2 separate regions of the Homo sapiens genome follow, and region 1 is linked to region 2. The links are contacts of gene promoters, found by promoter capture Hi-C in human tissues and cell types (Jung and others, 2019). All regions are on one chromosome and are shown on one strand. The core of a region is centred on a gene start or on the middle of the fragment in contact, and the rest is flanking DNA. Distances in the headings are between cores, read along the strand shown. Region 1 holds the start of ZNF853 (zinc finger protein 853). Region 2 overlaps ZNF316 (zinc finger protein 316).

Evidence for each region. The method cuts DNA at HindIII sites, captures the fragments that hold promoters and counts their contacts. A contact is called where the count stands out against the background at its distance.
Region 1: the fragment with the promoter of ZNF853 here is called in contact with a fragment that was not itself captured in region 2 in 2 of the 25 tissues and cell types used here (adrenal gland and spleen).

Annotation. Positions count from the first base shown.
Region 1 is chr7:6,614,226-6,616,925 of GRCh38, forward strand. ZNF853 (zinc finger protein 853) reads left to right here and starts at 1,385. Exons shown (of 3, transcript NM_017560.3): 1 at 1,385-1,961. The coding sequence starts at 1,950. RefSeq lists enhancers at 1-268, 269-1,022. The HindIII fragment of the contact is 23,550 bases long and covers 1-2,700 here.
Region 2 is chr7:6,650,166-6,652,865 of GRCh38, forward strand. It overlaps ZNF316 (zinc finger protein 316), which reads left to right. Exons shown (of 9, transcript NM_001278559.2): 9 at 2,138-2,700. Among named protein-coding and RNA genes, the nearest start is that of ZNF316, 14 kb to the left of the region's middle. The HindIII fragment of the contact is 3,413 bases long and covers 1-2,700 here.

The sequences.
Region 1 (2,700 bases), core at 135-2,634, 36 kb before region 2:
TGCCTCAGCCTCCAGAGTAGCTGGCGTTACAGGCATGTGCCACCATGCCCGGCCAATTTTGTATCTTTAGTAGAGATGGAGTTTCTCCATGTTGGCCAGGCTGGTCTCCAACTCCAGACCTCAGGTGATCTGCCCGCCTCGGCCTCCCAAAGTGCTGGGATTATAGGCGTGAGCCACCGCGCCCAGCATGTTTGCTTGTTTTTAGATGGAGACAGGGTCTCACTCTATCACCCAGGCTGGGGTGCAGTGGCGCGATCATAGTTCACTGCAGCCTCGACCTCCTCCCGGGCTCAAGTGGTCCACCCACCTTGGCCTCCAAAGTAGTTGGGATTACAGGCTACTTTTCAGTAGCCCAGCTAATTTTTTAAAAACCTCTTTTGTAGAGATGGGGTCTTGCTATGTTGGCTAGGCTGGTCTCAAACTACCAGCCTCAAGTGATCCTCCCGAAATGCTGGGTTTACAGGCGTGAAGTACCATGCCCTGCCCCCAGATCTTTGGTTTTTTCTAAAGAATTTGAGCATCCCAATTTGAATTTGAATTCTCCAGGTTAGAGAGGTTTGTGCACCGAGAACAGGAAAGTTAGGTGGTGCAACATTAAGACGGGGTTAGGGAAGGCCTCCCTTGGAGAAGACCCCTGACCCAGGCAGGAATCCACTTGCCAAGTAGGGAAAGAGGAGAGGAGAGGGTGAGGGAGGTGGGAGGCCTGACCACCAGCCTTGTGGTCAGCGAAAGGCCGCAGGGGCGCTGGGCGGGAGGATTCCAGCTCTGCCAGTTCTCCACGGTGGCCTCATTTGATCTATGCAGGTCACAGTCCCTGATCGGGGGAGGGAGGCACACACTCCCTACTGGCCTGCCCTCCCCAGCCCCGGGGTCTAGGAGGAGGGCTCCACGGTGCGGACCGGGGTGGCCTCTCCAGGGCCCGCTCGGGCCGGGCCCGGATGGCGCCTACTCCCTCTCCGAGTGCCATCGAATTGTGTGCTAATTAGCCACAATTTGCACCGCGGCAGGGGCGCCCCGAGGCCACGCCTGCCCTCTAGGGGGTGGCAGGGATCGGGTTGGGTACCCCCCACCCAGACACCCAGGCAGTGACAGTCGCCAACCCCGTGGCGCGAGGACACGCGCAGCAGGGATGCGGCACAGCGCGCGCTGCGCTCGGCACCGGCCAGCCCGGGACGCCCCAGGGGCCGCCGCATCGTGTCCCCCGGGCCGGGTGAGTGGCCGGGCCGGGAATGGTTAAGCCCACCGAGCTGCGGCTGCCTAGAGCGGCGGCGGCGACGGCGGCGGCGGCGGCGGGGGCCGGGGCGCGGGGGCGCGGCGGGCGGGCAGGGGCGGGGGACAGGATGCGGATGCCGGGGGGACTTCCTGTGCCGGCCCCCGCGCCCCCGCCCCCGGCCCGGCCAGCGGCCCGCACGGACGCACTCCCGGGCGGGCGGGCGAGCCCAGGGGGACCCGGCCTTGCCGCGGCGCCCGCCCCGCCCCCGCCCCGGCCCCCGCGCGGCCCGGCCCAGGCCGCCCGCAGGCTCCGGGCACCTGTAGCCCCCGAGGACCCGCGTCGCCTGGCCGCCGCCGACCCCAGGCGGGGCCACCCCGTGGTGCCGACCCCGGGCGCCGGCCTGGATCCCGCTGCCCGCGATGGTCCCGGGGGGCCGGCCCTGAGCCCCGCGCGGGATTCGGGGCCCTGCCTCCCGCCCCAGCCCCCGCCGGAGAGTCTCCACCAACTTCTGCTCGGCCGCTCCTCTCAGCCCCTTCCCTTGGCCCAGGGCGACCTCGGCAGCCCAGAGGGCGTGGACCCTCCGGAGTGCCCAGAAAGCCCCCGGGGTGGCCCTGCGCCTCCTGGCTCTTTCTGGATGGAGGCGCCTCCGGAAGGAGCCGGCTGCACGCCGTGGCCTTCACCTCGCAGCCTCTGCTGACCACACCTCCCTAGCGCAGAGGCTGCCCGGGAGCAGGAAATGCTCCACCAGGTGAGGCCCAGGGGGTCGTTGGCGCTGGGCAACCGGGGACGCGTCCCTTGAGAGAGTTTGGACTGGATGGCACGAGTCGGCCTGTTTAGGGGAGAGGGGCCAGCTCTGCACGGGCCAGGGTGGACTCTCAGGAGCGCCTGGGCACAGGGCCAGGCCGTGGGTGACAGTGCTCTGGACACCTGCCTTGCCCGGGAGCTGGGGTGGCAGCTGACACACGTGGCCTGCTGGCGGCCTTCTCAGAGCAGGCCAGGAAGGCAATAGAATGGAAGGGCGCCAGGCGCAGTGGCTCACTCCTATAATCCCAACACTTTAGGAGGCCGAGGCAGGAGGATCGCCTGAGGCCAGGAGTTCGAGACCAGCCTTGGGCAACATCATCTACAATATAAAAAAACATAAAAATTAGCTGGGGGTGATGGCACGCACCTGTAGCCCCAGCTACTCAGGAGGCGGAGGCAGGAGAATCGCTTGAACTGGGGAGACGGAGGTTGCAGTGAGTCCAGATCGCACCACTGCACTCCAGCCTGGGTGACAGAGTGAGAATCCGTATCAAGAAAAAAAAAAAAAAGTATTTAATAAAAAAAGAATTGAAGGAGGCAGGGAGGATGTTGATGGACAGTCTCTCTTTGGCCCCAGAGCTCCCCGCCCTGAATGTCCCTTTGGTGACTCTAGCTTTCCTCCCTTGTGAAGGGCTGATACCCACAGTTGTGTCTCTGTGGGGCTACCCCACTCTCCATCCCGC
Region 2 (2,700 bases), core at 41-2,540:
TCTCTGCCAGCCTCCCTATCCTGTAGGGTTGGGGTATAGGGCTGGGGTGCAGCAGCCTTCCCAGACCTGGGGAGTGTGGCTGCCAGTCGGGGAAGGGTGGCCACTGATGGGGACGGGGCTTTTCTTTGCTGCTCTGTGCACGGAGTGGCTGTGGGTGGCAGTTCGAGGTAGACTCAACTTAGTGACAAGAAACCTTTTTATTTCAAGCTTACGTTTACTATGATAGTAAACCGATAAAGTATCATGAAATGTGAAAGATGCAGTAACCCGTTTTCTGACCCTTTTCTATGATGCCTGTTTTTTCACAGTGAAGCCGGGCCTGTGTGGGTCTGTGTTTTCCTGCGGCTCTAGGTCCCCATATGGAATGTATGTGGGACGAGGCAGTGCCAAGGGCATGCAGCCTGGCAGGGGCCAGCGTGCGACATGAGGGGCTACCCGAGGCCTACTGGGACCTCCTGGGCTCCGACTTTCCCTCTAGGGCAGCACTCAGTGGTCCAGGCTTATCCAGCTAGGTGACGGCTGAAATGGGCAGGGGACCCAGGTGGGGTGAGGAGGAGATTTCCACACCAGCTGTGGGAGCTGGAACCTTCCAGATGCTGAGACTGTCGGGCAGACACCAGGAGGGTCCATGAAGGTGCCTTAGAGCATCTGGGGCTGCAGGCCAGGTGTCATCCCTGTGTCCCGTGACTTAGTGCCTGCTCCATAGACACCAGTTCCCTCCTGGGTGCGTCACGATGTCTTAGGTGTTTGAGCCATCAACAGGAGCCCCACCGAGCCAGCTCCATCTACATGTTGTTCATTGCCTGCACAGGTGCCTCGCAAGGCTGAAGGGAGAGGGCAGGGGTGCAGCTTGGTGTGAGAGGGGCAGAATGGGGGAAGCTGAGCAAAGCTTAGAGCTGACAGGCCGGGCACGGTGGCTCACCCCTGTAATCCCAGCACTTTGGGAGGCCAAGGTGGGTAGACCACCTGAGGTCAGGAGTTTGAGACTAGCCTGACCAACACTGAGAAACCCCATCTCTACTAAAATCATCATCATCATCATCATCATCTGGGCGCACGCCTGTAACTCCAGTTACTCGGGAGACTGAGGCAGGAGAATTGCTCAACCCGGGAGGTGGAGGTTGCGGTGGGCCGAGATTCGGCCATTGCACTCCAGCCTGGGCAACGAGCTCAATTCCGTCTCAAAAAACAAAACAAAATAAAAAAAGGCTGGGCGCGGTGGGTCACGCCTGTAATCCCAGCACTTTGGGAGGCCGAGGTGGGCAGATCACCTGAGGTCAGGAGTTCGAGACCAGCCTGGCCAACATGGCGAAACTCCATCTCTACTAAAAATACAAAAATTAGCCAGCTGCGGTGCTGTGCGCCTGTAATCCCAGCTACTAGGGAGTCTGAGGCAGAAGAATTGCTTGAACCTGGGAGGTGGAGGTTGCAGTGAGCTTTTAAAAAAAAAAGCCGGGCGTGGTGGCCTGAGCCCATAATCGCAGCTACTTGGGAGGCTGAGGTGGGAGAATTGCTTGAACCCACGAGGTGGAGGTTGCAGTGAGCCAAGATCGAGCCACTGCACTCCAGCCTGGGTGACAGAGTGAGACTCTTGTCTCAAAACAAAAACAAAAAGCTTAGAGCTGACAAAGGCAGGTCTTCTGTGGACAGGGCCGCCGGCTGCGCTGTCTTCCAGGAAGGCCAGGGAGGCGGAGTTCTCCAGGAGCTTTGGGGAAAACTGCCCCAGCGTCTCCACCTGGTTTTCTCAGCACAGGATCCCTGCTTGGGTTTAACCTTCGGTCGCACCCCTTCCTAGAGTTTGCCCCGTTCCTCAGCAGGTGGCAAGCCCTGGAGGGAGCCGGCGGTCTGGAAGAGATGTTGGACGGGAGCCCTGGCTTTCCTGGGAGGGACAGTTTCAGGTGCTGCGTGTCCCCAGGTTCCTAGCTGGGGGCGGCGGCTTTCCTGCCTTGCGGCTGTTCAGGACTGGCAGTGGGACATGGGCAACCGCTCACTTGGTGAAAGGAGGTGCCCCGTCCGACTGAAGGAAGGTCCTGCTGGTGGCGTCTCGGAAGCCCTGATTTCTCGGGACAGGAACCTGCCAGAGGCTCCTGTCAAGTTCACTTACCTCTCTCTTCTGGCCTGCCTTTGTCACCTTCAGGAGCCTGGTTCTGGACGGACGACATAGAGGACCACGAGGAGGAAGACGACGAGGACTTCCTGGCGGAGGTGGCCGAGGAGGAGAACGAGCCCCCAGGGCTCTGGTCGGCGGCCTACGGCGTGGGGGACGTGCCTGGGACGTGGGGGCCCGACGACTCGGATTCGGCGCAGACTCCAGAGGGGTGGGGACCCGACCCAGGCGGCCTGGGGGTCCTGGCCGACGGCTCTGAAGCGAAGCCTTTCCTGCCCGGCCGGGAGCCGGGTGCGAACCTGCTGTCGCCCTGGGCGTTCCCCGCCGCAGTGGCCCCGCCGGCCGGGAGGCCGGAGACCACGTGCGACGTGTGCGGCAAGGTCTTCCCGCACCGCTCGCGGCTGGCCAAGCACCAGCGCTACCACGCGGCCGTCAAGCCCTTCGGCTGCGAGGAGTGCGGCAAGGGCTTCGTGTACCGCTCGCACTTGGCCATCCACCAGCGCACGCACACCGGCGAGAAGCCCTTCCCGTGCCCGGACTGCGGCAAGCGCTTCGTCTACAAGTCGCACCTGGTTACGCACCGACGCATCCAT